Linked DNA regions of Homo sapiens: all the other regions are linked to region 2. The links are contacts of gene promoters, found by promoter capture Hi-C in blood cells and fetal thymus (Javierre and others, 2016). All regions are on one chromosome and are shown on one strand. The core of a region is centred on a gene start or on the middle of the fragment in contact, and the rest is flanking DNA. Distances in the headings are between cores, read along the strand shown. Region 1 has its middle 560 kb from the start of PKHD1. Region 2 holds the start of TFAP2B (transcription factor AP-2 beta). Region 3 overlaps PKHD1 (PKHD1 ciliary IPT domain containing fibrocystin/polyductin). Region 4 has its middle 530 kb from the start of TFAP2B. Region 5 overlaps PKHD1 (PKHD1 ciliary IPT domain containing fibrocystin/polyductin). Region 6 has its middle 550 kb from the start of TFAP2B.

Region 1 (3,044 bases), core at 8-2,507, 710 kb before region 2:
TCCTCCCCTGACTCCACAGGTGGCTCCTGAGTACTTTCTCTGGGTTCACACTATTCACATGTCCTTAAGAGGTCTAGTTGCATCTTCTAAGGGCCTCAGACCCAGGGTTACCCAGAAAGAAGAGGGGGTTAGGTATTGGTAGGGGTTCAAACATTAGATGTTTTCTTTTCTATGCAAAACAGTTGTTTTAGTTTAGTTCAATTTTGCTTATTTCTGAGTGATACAGGCTGAATCTTCCACCCAAAGCGATATATCATCAGAGCAGCCAGGGAGGCTGTGGCCAATTAGAAATCTGGAACTTGTTTATCAGTCAGTCAACAAGTTAGCAGAACCCACTGGGTTTCAGGGTGCTGTGCGCGGCATGCAACAGCACTTATATTGGAGTTAGGCTGAATTAGTTTCATTTTCACAAACATATAAAGTCCCTAAGAATCCTCACAAACTGTTAATTCTATTCTTGTTTTATGAGTGGACTCATGGGGCAAACAGATGTAAACTACACTGGACTCTAAAGAAAAAAAAAGCAATTGTGAATTTAGCACAAATACTTCTGTAGAGTGTGCCTGGGGTGCTCTTGGAAACTCACTCTCAGAAGGCAGCATCCAAACACTGTCACCTGCCAAGTATTAACCAGGCTAGTTTAAAAACAGAGATCTCAGTTAGAATTTTAACTCATGTAATATTGGGGATTCCCACTTTCCTAGGGCTCTGAAAAGAATCTGGTATCTCAGGGAAACAATAGCAAACATTAGAATAAAATGGCACCTTCCATAGTTGTCCCAGGCATAACTTGTGGGGCTATTCGTGGCCACCTTGTATAATCTGTAGGCAATTGCAGCTGACCTGCACCAGTGAGTCAAGCCCTACGTTCAGATGTCAGAACTTGTAGTTTTCTGTTATAACCAATTATTGTTTACAAAAAAGGAAGAGTTGCAATGTTATCCTATGGAAGGTGTTTTGTCCAGGAGTCTAATAAGTCTTTCCCCAGAGTTACTGACTGTTGGTTTCTCTATTAGACAGTCTTTTCTCTTAGAGCTTTGACAAAACCATTATGTGTAATATATCGTGTCCCCTCTCCACTTTTGTCTTCACCTGACTTGGCTGGCCTTGGGATGAAGAATTTTGGGAATATGGACTCTGCATACACATGCAGCTCCCCTTCTCTTTCTCATTCTGAATTGCATTAGCTCCTCATGGTGCCATGAGTGAAATGTTCCCAGAGCATACTCTGAGTTCCAAATGCTATCCTTACTAGAGTGGGTCTTTGGAAAGTCAACTACCAAATGATGAAAAGGAGATCCTACTCATGACTAGGAAAATCAACAAGAGGAATATTATTGTTAAGTAGAGGTGTACAGTGTTGACTACTGACAAGCAATGCAGGCTTCAGAGAAAGTGTCTTGGGAAACATTCTTGTACTTAATTTCTGCTCAACATTAATTGGGCACATATTGTGATCAGGTGCTGGGTCATGGGCAGACAAAGACAGAGAAGACATGGGCCCTGTCTTTGAGGAGTTAATGTCTACCATTATAGAGACAAACACCACATGCCTAGTCACTGTTGATTTTCAGGGTTCTGAAATCTGCTTTGATATTTGTGTTCAACATGACACTTAGGGTCCCCCAAAACACGTGTAATTGTTTGTCAAAGACAAACTAAAGAAGTTCAGGGTACAATCTTGGGCACAGCTGGATACTTTTCTTAGGAGTCTCTCAGCCCCTGGACACGGTGGCTTCAGGAATTGAGGGCTAGACTCACTGCCCTATTGCTGGGTTGAGTTGCGAGTTGTTCTCGAGGCTCCACCTGAGAGTCTCAGAAAGCAGCCTGGCTATGAGGGAGTGCACAGGGAGTTGAGGGGAGGCAACTTGATGAGGCTTCAGGGAGGGTGGATCCCTTGGAATCAATGGAGACTGAAAGTTCTTAAAGAGGGCTTCTGATAATAAGGGTAAGATATCTCAATGCACCTTCCAGAAACAGTGGAGCTGTTTTTCCCTTGTATCAAATGCATATGATAACCAAAGAGATAAAATTACTATGGCTTCATTTTTGTCCCTGGCTGGAATGTTCTAGAGAGTATGTGCTGTGTTTGATAATGTTCTGTGGATAAACCCCCAAGTCTTCCTAAGTCTAAACATCCAATTGTTTTCCTAAACTTAATCACAATTTTCTCATCTCATCGCTTTCCATTCCTCTCTAATATGATTATCTATCTTTCAGGCAATCCCCAACACCTATCCTTTGAATTTGGACTGGGAAGATAATTCAGATACAATGCTCCATTCTAATACATGCATTCTGTACTTTCCTATAGGTTATCTCTAACAATCACAGGTTTTGTGGATTAGGGTTCGAAGTCATTACTTCCTCATTGGCTCTTCCCAACAATTATTCTTATCTATCCTCTGATATACTGTAATGAAGAGGAGACTAGGTTAGTGAAAGGAAAATGGGCTTTTGGAGCCAGCCTGCTCACCTCCCTAGCTGTGTGAACGTGGAACTGCCATCTTAATTTCTTGAGCTTTCGTTTTATTTGTACATAATACATGAAAATGGAAAAATAATATGAATTTCAAAAGATTGAAGTGAGGATCGGGTGTATATAAAGGACCTACCATCATGGCTAACTCATGGTAGTTTTTTGATAACTGTAAGTACCCTTCCCTCCCTTTAAAAATAAGATATACACTGGATATCTAATAACTTCTGCAAAAGAAGAAATTATGCTTTCTCTCTCTAGCAAATTCCAACAAACCAGTGGTTTTAGTATCTCACATTAACTCTCACAGTTCCATGCACATGGTATATTCTCTGCACATATTTTATGAAAGAGTGGATGAATAAAGTATAAAATGTGTTGCAGTATTAAAAACTATGAGTTAAAGACACAGTAAATCCAGCAGATCATAACATGAACTTGATTTTCTGTTAGACCATTTTAACTTTTAAGAAGTTACCAGAAAAAGAAAAAAAAACTTATTAAGAGTGAGCTTTCTTGCTGAGGAATTGGTATCTCACTACATAAACCATGGGAAGCCAGGAGG
Region 2 (3,066 bases), core at 186-2,685:
CCCACTCTTAGGATCTTCGAGGCGGCTCTGCGCCGGGCTTTCAGGAGCTGTCCCGATCCGGAGGGGTCGCGTGTCTTTCTCGGCTCTTTGGGGAGCCTCTGCATCCCTCCACCTTTCGTCTGACCTAGCGGCCCGCGCCCGCCACCCGGGAGTCTGCTTCTCTTCCTTCCTTTTCTCTCCAACTTTTCCTCTTAGCAATCTCCATGGCCCGCTTCGCCCGCCTCGACTTCCCTCCTTTTCTAAATCCGCTTCGCCTTTCCGAAGTTTTTATTTCCAACCTCGACGTCTCAGCAGAACCTTCCCTTCCTCCCTTCCCCTGGCAACCACCTGGGGCTGTCCCAGACCATTCCGCTTAAAAGCGAGGCTCCGCGGGCTTCCCGGTCCCCAGCCTGGCCCGCCGCGCGCCCCGCGCCTCGCCCGCCTCGGCCGCCTCTCCCACCTCGCCCGCCTCTCCCACCTCGCCCGCCTCGGCCGCCTCGTCCGCCTAGTCCGCCTCGCCCGCGAGTAGCGGAGCCGTCTGGCCGCGTCAGCCCTCGCCCGAGCCGGAAAAGGGCTTTGGCGAGCGCGGTCCGGGCCCCGGAGGCGGCTGGCGTCCTCCTGGCTGGGCGCAACTTCTCCTGCCCCGAAGAGTTGAGCTAGCCTCAGTGCTAGAGACCCGTACGCATTGAACGTGGGCAGAAATTTCCGTGAAAGATGCCCACACAGGAGGCGGCTGCGATTTCTGTTCGGACGCAGTGACCCTCAAGGAAGCAAAACACAAGAAAACAGAAACTAATAAACTGCTACGACTTCTATTTTGCTCTATCCATCCATATCTCCAGCCATCTACTTCTTTCCCGCTAATTCTCTGTCCTCTACTTGGAACCATTTGTTATCAATTTCAGAAATTTTATTGAAAATAAAAATTAAAAGCCCGAGTCTGTTACAAATGAGGCTTGAAAACCCAATTCTCTTCCACACTTAAAACGAGAAAAGCCCCTGACTTTATCAGAATCTCGATTTTCTCTGAGAGCGTGCCCACATTCAGTAGCACCACATTCCCCATCAGAGCTTAAAAGGGTGGGGTGGGGTGGGGGGAGGCGAGGAAAAGGGAAAGAAAAATAAAATAAATAAAAACATTCCTAAATTAAAGTTGTCAGATTTCAGCCTTAAAGTCCCTTTTCAGAGCAGCGAAGTCTTCCCTAGCCAGCTTTTCTAAAAGTTAAAAAAAGCTGAGAAAACCGACCGGAAATCTACGAGTAAATAGCTTAAAAATATATATCATTTGGGGTATCAAGAAGCTCAAATTCTCTATCTGCAAAGCTCTAAGGTGCATCTGGGGGTGTCGACTCACCTCATAGATATCTTCGTACTTGACATTCTCCACAAGCTTCCAGAGCATGATGGCAGCCTGGTCTCTAGGAGGTGAGTGCATTCATGTGAGGAGCAGATGTCTGGCTTCTCAGGACTCCGCTGTCTGTAATGATCCATCTATAATTGGAAATGGGGGATACACACCAAATCCGACGCTCCTCTCCCATCGCAACTTATATCTGTTGTCTCAAACAATAGGCTGGACAAGTAAGCCTCAGCAAAGAGAAAAAACATTATTGCACACACAGGAGTTAGATGCAACCCACAGACATATATACTATAAAAATCATAAACCCGTATTTACACCCAGACACCCACATATAGTTATATAAGCACCTCTGGGTCACACAGTCTGCAGACTCCAAATGTGCATTTAACAAAGAGTTGTTCAGGGTGATTAATATAATATATACATTTTATAACTTCTATATCGAAAATGACACATCATTGTAGCCACTAACTGAAGTCTTTGCAATTCATAATGAGAAACCAGGGGCCATCAGTCCCCTATTTTCTATGTAGATTTTAAAGGGGGACACTTACCAAGATTTTTAAACACAAAAGCTCCCTCCTATTCATGTATGTTCCGGAAGAGAGTATTTTGAAAGGCTGGATATGGGGGATTTTAAGGACTATCTCTGTGTTGATGGCTACACAACTTTTTTTTTTTTAACTTTATCTCTGTCACCATAGAACAAAAAAGCTAGCCACCGTTGATGACCATTTCTAATATTTTCTGGTCATTTTACCTAAAACCTTTGGAAACTTAAATACACCTCAGTTTGTGCTGCTTGTTATTTTAGGTGTTGTTTGTATGCATTTTCAACGGATTCCATGCACCATTCCTCTTGGCTGGAGTCTCCATTTTATCAAGTTTTTTTCAGATGTTGGAAGCAACGTACGCACACGTTCAGACAAGGTTAATTTTGAGCCTTTTTTGCAGAGGCCAAGGACATTTTATATTTGCATCTGTTGTGTATGACTTGTAAGTGGTTTTAATCATGGAGAGTCAAGAAAGGGCCACCCGAATCTTTGAAAAGGTTTAAGCAGAATGTCTTCAAAGAGATAGTGAAAAATATTTTAGTGCATGTGGAGTTTCTTCTTTTTTTTGTATAATTTTTCTTAATAAGATGATTCATATAGTTTTTAAAAAGGAAAACATCATCAGCAACAAGAACAATATTAACCAGACTTAGAAAATGGGCACCATTTAAGGCGCAGGGATTCTGAATTTTATCATGAAATGAATACTCATCTGTTCCCCTGTTCCCCCTTTCCCATCCCCTCTGTTTTTCTACTCCCTTTCAGGGTGCGGAGAGCTTCTCATAGCCGGAACAGACGCCCAGAAGAGGATCTCTGCGCCTGGGACAGAAAAGAAATGCCAGGAGGGACCGAGGAGGGATGGGGCAATTTGGGGTGGAAGTTATTAAGCCTGGTGAGAGTGAATCTGCAAAGGGTGATTGTCTTTAAATCCAGGACTGCTGTGTGCAGCTCTGCGCGAACAGGGATGGACGCTGTTTGAGTACAGGGCTCCGGACAACCTTGTTGGACGTCGATTCAATCAAAACCAAGGAGAAGCTTCATGAACTGCAGAATAAACAATTCTGCAGATTTTTAATTTAATTTTTAAAGATAAGTCAAAGGAAAAGAACACAAAGAAGGTGCTTCAGAAGGAACTTCAGAAATAAACCCCTTATTTCCGGTTGAATTTTT
Region 3 (2,700 bases), core at 60-2,559, 940 kb before region 2:
GGTTCATCTATGTTGATGCTAATGACCAGATTTTCTTCTTTTTAAAGGCTGAATAGTATTCCAGAGTGTATGTGTATACTGCATTTTCTTTATCCATTCATTTGTCGATGGGCACCTAGATTGACTCTATATTTTGGCTCTTGCGAATAATGTTGCTGTGAACATGGGAGTGCAAATATCTCAGACATACTGATTTCATATCCTTGGAATATATATCTAGAAGATGGATTGCTGGATCATATTCTATTTTTAATTATTGAGGACCCTCCAAACTCTTTTCTATAACGGTTGTACTAATTTACATTTCTACTAACAGTATGCAAGGGTTCTCTTCTCTTTCCATCCTCACTAACCTTTGTTATCTTTCACTGTTTTGGTAATTTTGACAGGTATGAGGTGTCTGAAGTGATTTATTAACATACTCTGTTATTTACAAGGAAGAAACTGTGAACTGAATAAGAAATCAAGTCATTTGTTACCTCATCCTTTTCTCCAGGCCCTAAACCTTTAAATTGAATGTCATAATTGATTATATCTATTCCTTTATCTCCTATGTTAAATTAATGATGTGTTCTTTGTATATATTTTGTTTGGAATGTTTCTTTTTTCTTTCCTATCTGCTACATTCTCATTGCAGCACTTCACCCATGGCTCTCTACAACAACTTTTGTACTGGCTCCTTAAGTACCTAATAAATGAAATAAGAGTATCAGATGCAGTATTCTTGCATCTCCTCCTTGACTGTATAACTTCCTATTTATCCTTAAAGATTCCATTACATCAGACACAGGACTTTAGGTATCTCCGACTCTACAAATTTTCCCATCATCTGAACGTAAGATGTGATTTTATGATTTGTAATTTTAAGAAAAGCATAACACTAAGATGTTTAACATTTGTGTGTCCTGTTCCTCCAAGTGGCTTCTATAGGGGAGAGATATATTTTTGTTATTGTTGATTTGGTATATTAGTGTCTAGTGCACAGCAGAACATAAAGAAGGGCTCCAATAAATGCATGCTACATTGACTTGATGTGTATTTTCTAGAAATCAGAACTTATTGAGCTTCTTGGTTCAATGGCATATTATCTAACAAATGAGAGAATCTTGAATTTAATTTCAAATACTACTATAATTTATTTTGCTCATTCCTCAAACTTTATTATTATAACAACTTAGTTTAAGTATTAGAATATAGAGTTGGTGGCCTTATGCACTCATTGGCAAGAGTTCAGGATCACATATGTAACCTCTAAAAGATGATGATTTTTTTTCATATGTTAGAGGTCCAATAAACTATTGGGTTCTATTGCCAAATTCACTACTATTATGATGCTGGTGAAAGGCATATGTTTGGAAGGTAGGTTGGAAATATATTCTGCAATGAAAAGGAGTTTGAACTTTGAGGGCAGGCAGACTAATTCTAGTTAGGTGGTTAGCTAAAGGTGTAACTCTGAGTAAATTACTCTCTCTGAGCCTCAGTTTTATTTTCTTTAATTATGTGAGTAACAATACATTGCTAATAGAATAGTTATAAGGATTGAGGGAGTTAATGCACATGAGGTGTTAAGCCCAGTTTCTGGCACAGTGTAAGCCTTAAGACAGGGCAGCTATTGTGGCAATCGGGGCTCTTTAAGTCGAAAGTACAAGTAAAAGTAACCCTTCTTAAGCCATTTTGAAGACTGTATCAAGCCCTTCCTCTCCTCCTCTACTTTTTTACTTCTTTATTTCAACCTCTTTTTTTTCTACTGGAGAATAGTTTTCTTCATTCTGTATGGTGCAAGTGAACTCAGATCTGTTTGGCTTTTCCTAGCTATACCACCAGTGAGGAGGTTACTACTAATTCCCCTCAGTTTCATTCAAAATTCCAGGGGAAAGATTTTGGTGAATGAATGCAGGTTGGATCCTATGCCCAGCCTTTGGTGAAGGGTTTGTGGGACTTTAACCTGCAGCTCTCACAGATTTCAGTATAGTGGATGGGAGCAGTTCTCAGATGAGGTGTGAGGGATTTCCTGGAATGAAGCAGAGAGGAAGTCAGGTAGACAAATAATTGGTATTGACTATAGCTATAATTGTTGTCACTCACCATCTTTACCAGCATCATTATAGAATTCAATTTCTTCTCTATCAAGTGTAGAATAATACAGTCTGAGAATCCTCATTACATTTTAATGGCACTGATAGAAAAATTTTAAACTGAAGTTACAAAATGAAAAAGACTAAATATTAGTAGAGTTCAGAAATCTGTGGCCATCCCTATTCCTGGAGGTGCAGGTGAGACAGGGCATGTTTTGTGATATGTACACTCTGAGCCTGTGGTCAAATGCAGTTATTATCATTAAGATCTTACAAGTATTAAGTTAACAAATTCATTTAAGTTGTAGGTGTTTACACGTGAATGTCTTACACATTTTTGTAAAAACTTTTAAATCAAATTTTGAAGCATTTTTAAATTCTCTGTAAATAATAAGTATTATATTTTTGTCTAGTAAATATTATTTTTCTCTGAACTAGGTCAAAAGTTATGCCAAAATAAAGAAACTGTACTGATATTTTGTTTATATTTTCTTAGAGTTATCTTTAAAAAGACTTCCACAGTGATTATTCATAATTTCCTCTCTCTTCTCATATGGTTTCCATTTAGGTACAATTATGTTGAAAAAAAGTCTTTTAATTTTTTGTTTATTTATTATTTGAGGTA
Region 4 (3,066 bases), core at 379-2,878, 530 kb before region 2:
AAAGTGCTGGGATTACAGGCATGAACCACCGCACCCAGCCCCTGCCCATCCTTTAAGCCCTAGGCCAAACACCACCACCTTTATGACGCCTTTCTTGATTTTTACCAGTTGTAAATTCTTCCTCTTCTCCTTTCCTATAGCATTGTTCTCTGTGGGGCATCTGAACAATGACTTAGAAACATCCAACCTCAATTTTGTCATTTGTAAAACAAGGCACATGACATATACCAAAAAAGTTACTGTGAGGCTAAAGTAACATGTATAAGCTCCTTCTACAATCAATAATTCTTAGTTTAATTTATTCCTATATCACAATTTTATTTTCATTATAGATATTTGGGTATATATCTTATCTGTAACAAATTAAGCTCCCAGAGAGTATAGATCATCTTATTCACCTTTGTAAATGGCTTAGCGTAGTTCTTTATATACAGCTTCATTAAAGTATGTATATTGAGTGAATAATGTACCTCTGCCTCAGTTTTTCATCTGTAAAATGGGAATAAAAATAGCTTAGTTATTTTATAGCATTATGAAAAGGGTAAATTAAAATTCTACATGTATAATCATTTTGAAAAATAAAAAGACAAAATGCTAGCCAAGTATAAGATGTTGTTCAGTATATTATTAATATGTTTGGACAACTAGTGACAATATTACCCAGCTTATCCAGTAGAGGGCAACGACACACACAAGGATATTCATATTCTTTTTAAGACTTTGAAAACCACAAATTTAAAAGTGAGAAAAGCTTTTGGTATTATGCTAACAAAATAAAACAATCTCTCTGGATTCAGCTGATTTCTTTTCTTTTACTCTTTTATGTATACAATGTATATGTATATAAAGAACCTTAGACTCCATTGAGGGTTTCCAGTGTGTAGACCTGTGTTCTAAATTCCCTACTAGAATTTCCACTTGCCCATTTGCTAAGGGTGAGGAATTATTCCAGCTTAGCCAATGGGAAAAGAACACTGTTTTTACTGGTTTCATTACCTTGGTGCTGCGCAGAAGGATTTCCATAGCACTGGTGAGGGTGTGGCCCTGATTGGAGAGAGGCCTGGAAGGTTTCCATGCCAGCGGAGGGATTGGAGAAAGACTTGGAAAAACAATGCCGACCATTGTTTCCTTAGCCTGCTTTGGCTCCCCTCAGTCTGCTCTGTGAAGACACTGAATCCATTGACTAAGTCACTGACATTTTCCTAGCAGAGGGTAAGTCTCCAAGGGATAAGGGAAAGAGAGGGTGGTGGTGAATGAGCACCCGCAGCAGAGTATATCTACTGTGCAGGTGTTTGCTTTCCAGTTAATTCTGAACTTACTAAGTTTTAGGCAGAAAAACAGCCTGAAGATATGAGTAAGTGCATGGCATTTGCCCCTGAGAAACCCAAACTATAATATAAGACAGTTAGATTCCCAGGCAAGATGGCCGAATAGGAACAGCTCCAGTCTGCAGCTCCCAGCAAGACCAATGCAGAAGGCAGGTGGTTTCTGCATTTCCAACTGAGTACCCGGTTCATCTCTTTGGGACTGGTTAGGCAGTGGGTGCAGCCCACAGAGAGCGAGCAGAAACAGGGTGAGGTGTTGCCTCACCTGGGAAGCACAAGGAGCCAGGGAACTCCCTCCTCTAGCCAAGGGAAGCCATGAGGGACTATGCCATGATGTATGGTGCACTCTGGCCCATATACTACACTTTTCCCACAGTCTTCACAATCCATAGACCAGGAGATTCCCTTGGGTGCCTACACCACCAGGGCCCTGGGTTTCAAGCACAAAACTGGGCAGCCATTTGGGCAGACACTGAGCTAGCTGCAGGAGTTTTTTTTTCATACCCCAGTGGCGCCTGGAATGCCAGCAAGACAAAACCATTCACTCCCCCAGAAAGGGAGCTGAAGCCAGGAAGCCAAGCGGTCTTGCTCAGCAGATCACAACGCCATGAAGCCCAGCAAGCTAAGATCCACTGGCTTGAAGTACTCACTGCCAGCACAGCAGTCTGAAGTTGACCTGGATGCTCCAGCTTGGTGGGAGGAGGGGTGTCTGCCATTACTGAGGTTTAGGTAGGCAGTTTTCCCTTCACAGTGTAAACAAAGCTGCCAGGAAGTTTGGACTAGGTAGAGTCCACCACAGCACAGCAAAGCCACTGTAGCCAGATTGCCTCTCTAGATTCCCTCTCTCAGGGCAGGCCATCTCTCAAAGAAGGGCAGCAGCCTCAGTCAGTGGCTTATAGATAAAACTCCCATCTCCCTGGGACAGAGCACCTGGGGAAAGGGGCAGCAATAGGTGCAGCTTCAGCAGACATAAGTGTTCCTGCCTGACAGCTCTGAAGAGAGCAGTGGACCTCCCAGCACAGCACTCAAGCTCTGCTAAGAGACAGACTGCCTCCTCAAGTGGGTCCCTGACCCCCGTGCCTCCTGACTGGGAGACACTTCCCAGCAGGGGTCGACAGACACCTCATACAGGAGAGCTCCAACTGGTATCTGGTGGGTGCCCCTCTGGGACAAAGCTTCGAGAGGAAGGAGGGGGCAGCAATTTTTGCTGTTCTGCAGCCTCAGCTGGTGATACCCAGGCAAACAAGTTCTGGAGTGGACCTCCAGCAAACTCCAGCAGACCTGCAGAAGAGGGGTCTCACTGTTAAAAGCAAAATGAACAAACAGAAAGCAAAAGCATCAACATAAACAAAAAGGACAACCACATAAAAACTCCATCCAAAGGTCACCAAAAGCAAAGACCAAAGGTAGATAAATCCACAAAGATGAGGAAGAACCAATGCAAAAAGGCTGAAAATTCCAAAAACCAGAATGCCTCTTATCCTCCAAAGGATCAGAATTCCTCGCCAGCAAGGGAACAAAACTGGATGGAGAATGAGTTTGATGAATTGACAGGAGTAGGCTTCAGAAGGTGGATAATAACAAATTCCTCCAAGCTAAAGGAGCATGTTTTAACCCAATGCAAGGGAACTAAGAACCTTGATAAAAGGTTAGAGGAATTGCTGACTGGAATAACCAGTTTGGAGAAGAACATAAATGACCTGATGGAGCTGAGAAACAGCACTAGAACTTCGTGAAGCAT
Region 5 (2,785 bases), core at 72-2,571, 910 kb before region 2:
GAGATTGTAAAAAATGTGGTACATGGCCAAATAAATTTTGAAAACTCTGACTATTCCTATTTTGGAGACCACCATGTGTATTAAAATACTGAAGATTCTGATAAGTTCTGCAATTAAATTTTTAAAAACACTGTTTAATTTTGTGTTACCCGGTGTTTCCCAAGCTTTTTGACTAGAGAATACCTGTTCATACTACACATTAGGGTCCCTTGGAACTAGTGTACTTCAGAACACATTCTGGGAAATATTGCCTCATGTTAATCTATTAGTCTACAGGAATACATGCTACTTGGAAAGAAATGACAAGATTGTAGTGCCTTTGATTTGGATGGTCCCTTGAAGATCAATCAGCTTCACTTCACATGCATACGTGCCCTTTACCTTTCATTTTCCCAGGAAGTGGGAGTTCACACCCTTTTAAGGCTGCCTATATTATATTTTGAATAACTTGTTATTGTTAGGCTCTTCCTTCTATGACTTCTACCCAGTGACCTAGTTTGCCTTTTGGCATGACAGAGTATAAGTCTTTCCAGGTTTCATATAAGTCTTTCTGTATTACAGCATTTTACATATTCAAAGACAGTAAGACAATGATTTTATAATAAGCCAAATAAGACTTTTTCAAGCATAGGAATTCTAAATTCCTTCTATCAGCCAATATATGACATTTTTTTAGTTCTTCACTTTTTAGACTGGCTTATGTTTTTATTGTGGTAAAATACATATAATATAAAATTTACCATCTTAACCATTTTTTTTTTTTTTTGAGAGGGAGTCTCCCTCTGTCCTCAGGCTGGAGTGCAGTGGTGTGATCTCAGCTCACTGCAAGCTCCGCCTCCTGGGTTCACACCATTCTCCTGCCTCAGCCTCAGTAGCTGGGACTACAGGCTCCCACCACCACGCCCGGCTAATTTTTTGTATTTTTAGTAGAGACAGGGTTTCACTGTGTTAGCCAGGATGATCTAGGTCTCCTGACCTTGTGATCCGCCCATCTCGTTCTCCCAAAGTACTGGGATTACAGGTGTGAGTCACTGTGCCTGGCCCATCTTAACCATTTTTAAGTGTACAGTTCAGTGGTATTAAATACATTCATAGTATTGTGCAACCATCACTACCATACTTCTCCATAAGTCTTTTCAACTCTTAAAACTGAAACTCTAATGTCATTAAACAGTAACTTCCCATTCTTCCCTACCCCGTGTTCCTGAAAACCAACATTCCACTCTCTGGGTCTATGATTTTGACTACCCTTAAGTACCTCATATAAGTAGAATCATACAATACCTTTTGGTACTGGCTTATTTCTTTTAGCATAATGTTCTCAGGGTTCATCCATGTTGTAGCATATTATGGAATTTCATTCCATTGCATGAACTTACCACATTTTGCTTATCCATTCATCCACCCATGGACACCTGGAATGCTTCCATGTTTTAGCTATTGTAAATAATGCTACTATGAATATGGTATACAAATATCTCTTAGAGACTCTACTTTCAATTCTATTGGGTATAGATCCAGAAGTGAAATAGCAAGGTCATGTGATAGTTCTATTTTCAACCTTTTGTGGAACCATAATGTTGTTTCCCACAATAACTGTACCATTTTACATTCCCACCAACAGTACACAATGGTTTCTCCACATCCTTGTTGACACTTGAAATTTTCTACTTTGATAGTAACCATTTTAATGGGTGTGAGGTGATATGTCGTTGTAATTTTGATTTGCATTTCCCAAGTGATTAGTAGTGTTGAACATCTTTTCATGGAGTCATTGTTAATTTGAATATCTTTTTTGGAGAAATGTCTATTCAAGTCCCATATTAATTTTTGAATTGGGCTGTTTGGGTTTTTTTGTTATTGTTGAATCTTAGGAGTTGTGGTTTATGTTGTGGATATTAATCCTTTACTAGACATATGATTTGCAAATATTTCCCCCCATACTTCAGGTTTCCTTTTCACTCTGTTGATAGAGTTTTTTGATCCACAAATTTTTGATATTTTTATGAAGGACTGGCATATTTTTGATGATCTTCAGTTTTCAGTGATTTTTTTCTAAATCTAGGAATAAGAACTGAATATTAACCATCCAGAACAGTATTGTTCAAAAGAAATATAATGCACCAGTGTGACTTAGTATCTTAGCATCCAGGCTAAAAGCAGTAAAAAGAAACAGCTCAATATATTTAAAAATCATCATTTTAATATGTAATCAGTGTAGTTGAGATATTTTGCATTATGTTTCTTATACTATGTGTTTAAAATCTGTTGTGCTTTTTACTGTTATGCCATGTCAATTTATAAAGTGTTTTTATCAAAAGTATTTGATCTTTGCCTATATTTTATAAACTTTGCAACTGAAAAAGTAGAATCACATATAAACATTGTTTAAAATATACCTAAACATTTTCCAATAATTGTTATCAGTTTTACATTTTAAATTATAATTAATTAAAATTATACATAATTTGAAGCTTAGCTCCTTGGGTGCACTAGTCACATTTCAAAGACTAAATAGCTACATGTAGCTGCATTCATCATATGGATATTTTTCTTCCTTTGTTCTGAGGGATACACATTAAAGAGAATTGATTTTTTAAGCCATGTAGTAGACTCTATTTATCCCTGGTAAATTACCCTTTTATAAGTCAGTGGTCATCAGATGTAGCCTGGGTTCCTAGGATTAGAAATGAATCACAGAATTAGAAACCAATCTAGAGAGCACCTAATTGATCCTGGGCATATAATTCAGTCAATTAAAAAACAAAGCTTGTCTAGACTTGGA
Region 6 (3,100 bases), core at 581-3,080, 550 kb before region 2:
GAAGGTACAGAATTCTAGACTTCTCCTTGGTCTTCAGGGACAAAAAAGGTCTCCTCTCTAGGACTGGAATCCTAGCTTCTGCCTACCTAAAACTCAAATGCTGAACCGTCTATTTCCTTAGAACCCAAATGCTCAGGCCCAGCCTCCAGGGTACCAAACACACTTTCTTTAGTGATGCCTCATGATGACCATAGGAGGGAGAAAGAATCAAGGACACATGCTCTGATTACCCTCTTCCCAAAATTTCTTTATAATTTATTTACTGAGCACCTATTATGTGCTGCTGCTGGGACATCTTGATATGTAAGCACCAGAGACATTCATAGCTTGATCATGGAACATGATATTTTAATGTTTGTTTTTTGAAGGCTGTTAAAATTATGGTTAAAAAACTGAATGGATCTAAGAAACCTCTGAAAATAAATAACACAAGAGGAGTGAAGCTATAAACATTTTGATTTTGTGATGCATGAAAACTTCTGTAATGTGCAAAACTTGACTAACATATTCCACACTAAAGGATGCAACATGACCATCTGGGGACATTTTAGAATGATTTCTGTTGCCTTGTGAGGCTTCAGAGCTAATAAAGCAGATTTGTTAATGCTTCATAGATTTCCAAGAGAACTCATTATATAGGTATTATTATAATTCCCATATCCTTGAAATGAGAATATTATTGAGTCCACAATCCTGGATAGATTAAGTGAATTGCCAAATAAATAAACACTAAATAGCAGAACCTAAATCTTATGTTAAAGGCCAGCTGCAATACACCATCCAACTTCTTACCATAGTATCCCCAATATTGAATAGTGATAGCAGAGCATAGTGTTACCTTTAATATCCTAAAGCAGTGGTTGAATTTCCACAGTGTAATAAATTGACAAATATGCTTTAGCAGAGTATGCATTAACTTTCTAGTCCAGAGATGGATTTAGAAACAGATTATCTTTCCTCTGAATAACTAAGACTGTACACAGTTAGGCAAGGTAAGTATAGGATACACACAAGTTTTAATGTCACCTTCTAACCCCCAAGATCCAGTAGGGGAGAATGGGAAAATATCAGTACCATGAAGAGGAATTATGAATTACCAACACTTGCCTTTCTGAACAGGAAATTGTACCTGTGGATAGCAGAGAAGGATGCCAAGTTTCTTTTGGGCATCTTTTATGTCCCAAAGAATTAGACGTTTTCTATTCTAATTGATGAGGGAGAATAATGCTGCATCAGCAGGTATCTGCCATGCAATATTAGCACATGGACCAGGTAAGGGTCCTGTTGACTTTAAATGCTGTTTATGTATTGGGCCAACTGGCTGGAGTACTCATATCTATCAAGCAGCCAGACACTCAACAGTGGGGCTGCCCAGACATGAATAATTCATCCATCCTTTAAGTATGTGTAGATAACTCTGTATCACAATTGTAAAGAAGGTGTCATAATCAAGTTGTGTCAGTTCATGAATATTTAAATCCAATAAACTTAACCAGTTAAATAAACACTCTTATTACTCAGGTCACAGTGCTATTTAATTGAGAGTCCCAGCTCCTAATTATGCAATACAATACAAGTATACATAAATACACACTTAGCCTTACATTCTACACTACAGGAGTATCTCAGCCTTTGCCTAGTTTCTACATTTCTGTAATGCCTACTTTCCTTACTCCATCTGTCCTATCATTCTTTACATCCTTGCTTTCTTGTTTGAATACTTCATCTCTAAAAGTGTATTATTATTTTCACAACCCCATACATTAAATTTATACTAGATTATATATTTTAAGTAAATTCTTTTTTAAAGTTCATGTTCATGTTTTTATTTGTCTTAACTTTTTAAAAGAAAAATTCCTTGCATCGATTATATTTTGCATGAGTCTCTCATTTCTGAGGGAACTACTCTAAAATGCTCATCATACACCGGTACCATATCCCTGAGAGTCGACAGCTTGAAAATAAGATGAGCTGGGTTAAATCATTGCCATTATAATTACATATAAGAGAACTGCTGATTCCACATTTGATAATACATTGACTCTGGAGTAAATAACAGATTATAGGAGTGAAACGGAAATGGTTATTCATATTTTGTTGGTGAGGCAGTTTTGCTACTGACTTTACAAAAGAGCTTAGAAGCTACAGAAAAAAAGTGTTCCATAGATTGTTCCAATTATTTCCTATGGAGACCCACTGTAGGAAATTAAGTGAAAAAAGTTAACTTTCTTAGATGGTTCGTTTAAAAAACCTCAAAAGCAAATAACTTATAAGTGCTTTAGATTTTAAAGTTACTTATAAAAATGTTCGTTGTCTAGTTTATTTTCATATATTATCTTTTCCTATATTTCTGTTGCTTAAACTCTTATAAAATGTTTTTCTGTCTTTTTCCTATCAAACGATAATAATGATTTTTAAAATAAGGAGAAAGAGGAAACTAAGTGCATATGTTTGTTTGTGTTCATACGTACACATATATGCAGTCAACACAGCAAATTTTGTACAAATAGAATATGTGTATAGTGATCAACTAGTCTTACAAAAATCTTAAGAGAATTTGAAGGAAAATTTTGAAATCATACTTACTCTTACACCCATATAACGCTTTATACTTTTCAAAGTCACTTCACATTTTTTTGCCTTTCAATACTGAGATAGGGCAGATGTTAATCATAATTTTAAAAGGTGCAAGCTGAGGGAGTGATCAAATGGAAAGTCCCAAAGTTAGAGAGAAATAGTATTTGAGTTCATATCTCTTAACGCTCAACCTCCTTTTACTAAAAAACATTAAATAAAGAAACACACTTGTAGTCATAAATTACCAAAGAGGCCATACTGCCCTTACAGACAGGACTGAACAAAAGTAAAACTGGGAAATAGAAAAAGAGGTTCAGTAGTTCTTTGGGAAGCTCCTTTTTGCCTGGTCTCATCCCTGACTCTTTTATTAATTCATCCTCTTTCTATTTTCTAAACATACAATGGCAAACCCTGACTCCCCATTCCTTGTCTACAAGAATAGACAAGGAATACTCTCCTTTTTCCTTCATATGAAGGCTTGCACAATTCCAGGCTTAGCTCCCTCAGTAGTCTCTGTGTGCCT

The links. The method cuts DNA at HindIII sites, captures the fragments that hold promoters and counts their contacts. A CHiCAGO score of 5 or more calls a contact.
Region 1: a contact is called between a fragment that was not itself captured here and the fragment with the promoter of TFAP2B in region 2, in 3 of 17 cell types (M1 macrophages, monocytes and M0 macrophages). The highest score is 6.3, in M1 macrophages.
Region 3: a contact is called between a fragment that was not itself captured here and the fragment with the promoter of TFAP2B in region 2, in 4 of 17 cell types (M2 macrophages, monocytes, M0 macrophages and 1 more). The highest score is 14.9, in M2 macrophages.
Region 4: a fragment that was not itself captured here is called in contact with the fragment with the promoter of TFAP2B in region 2 in 8 of 17 cell types (megakaryocytes, M0 macrophages, erythroblasts and 5 more); the score reaches 17.1 in megakaryocytes.
Region 5: a fragment that was not itself captured here is called in contact with the fragment with the promoter of TFAP2B in region 2 in 1 of 17 cell types (monocytes); the score reaches 6.7 in monocytes.
Region 6: a contact is called between a fragment that was not itself captured here and the fragment with the promoter of TFAP2B in region 2, in 2 of 17 cell types (erythroblasts and M0 macrophages). The highest score is 5.9, in erythroblasts.

The regions. Positions count from the first base shown.
Region 1 is chr6:51,523,575-51,526,618 of GRCh38, reverse strand. No RefSeq gene overlaps it. Among named protein-coding and RNA genes, the nearest start is that of PKHD1, 560 kb to the left of the region's middle. The HindIII fragment of the contact is 3,898 bases long and covers 1-3,044 here.
Region 2 is chr6:50,817,240-50,820,305 of GRCh38, reverse strand. TFAP2B (transcription factor AP-2 beta) reads right to left here and starts at 1,435. Exons shown (of 7, transcript NM_003221.4): 1 at 1,334-1,435. The coding sequence starts at 1,414. It overlaps LOC124901490 (a long non-coding RNA gene), which reads left to right and starts at 1,280. Exons shown (of 2, transcript XR_007059923.1): 1 at 1,280-1,404; 2 at 2,662-3,061. The HindIII fragment of the contact is 1,562 bases long and covers 1,372-2,933 here.
Region 3 is chr6:51,758,591-51,761,290 of GRCh38, reverse strand. All of the region lies in intron 55 of PKHD1 (PKHD1 ciliary IPT domain containing fibrocystin/polyductin), which reads left to right. Among named protein-coding and RNA genes, the nearest start is that of PKHD1, 330 kb to the left of the region's middle. The HindIII fragment of the contact is 5,157 bases long and covers 1-2,700 here.
Region 4 is chr6:51,348,114-51,351,179 of GRCh38, reverse strand. No RefSeq gene overlaps it. Among named protein-coding and RNA genes, the nearest start is that of TFAP2B, 530 kb to the right of the region's middle. The HindIII fragment of the contact is 1,749 bases long and covers 754-2,502 here.
Region 5 is chr6:51,731,517-51,734,301 of GRCh38, reverse strand. All of the region lies in intron 60 of PKHD1 (PKHD1 ciliary IPT domain containing fibrocystin/polyductin), which reads left to right. Among named protein-coding and RNA genes, the nearest start is that of PKHD1, 350 kb to the left of the region's middle. The HindIII fragment of the contact is 2,310 bases long and covers 167-2,476 here.
Region 6 is chr6:51,367,816-51,370,915 of GRCh38, reverse strand. No RefSeq gene overlaps it. Among named protein-coding and RNA genes, the nearest start is that of TFAP2B, 550 kb to the right of the region's middle. The HindIII fragment of the contact is 5,423 bases long and covers 1-3,100 here.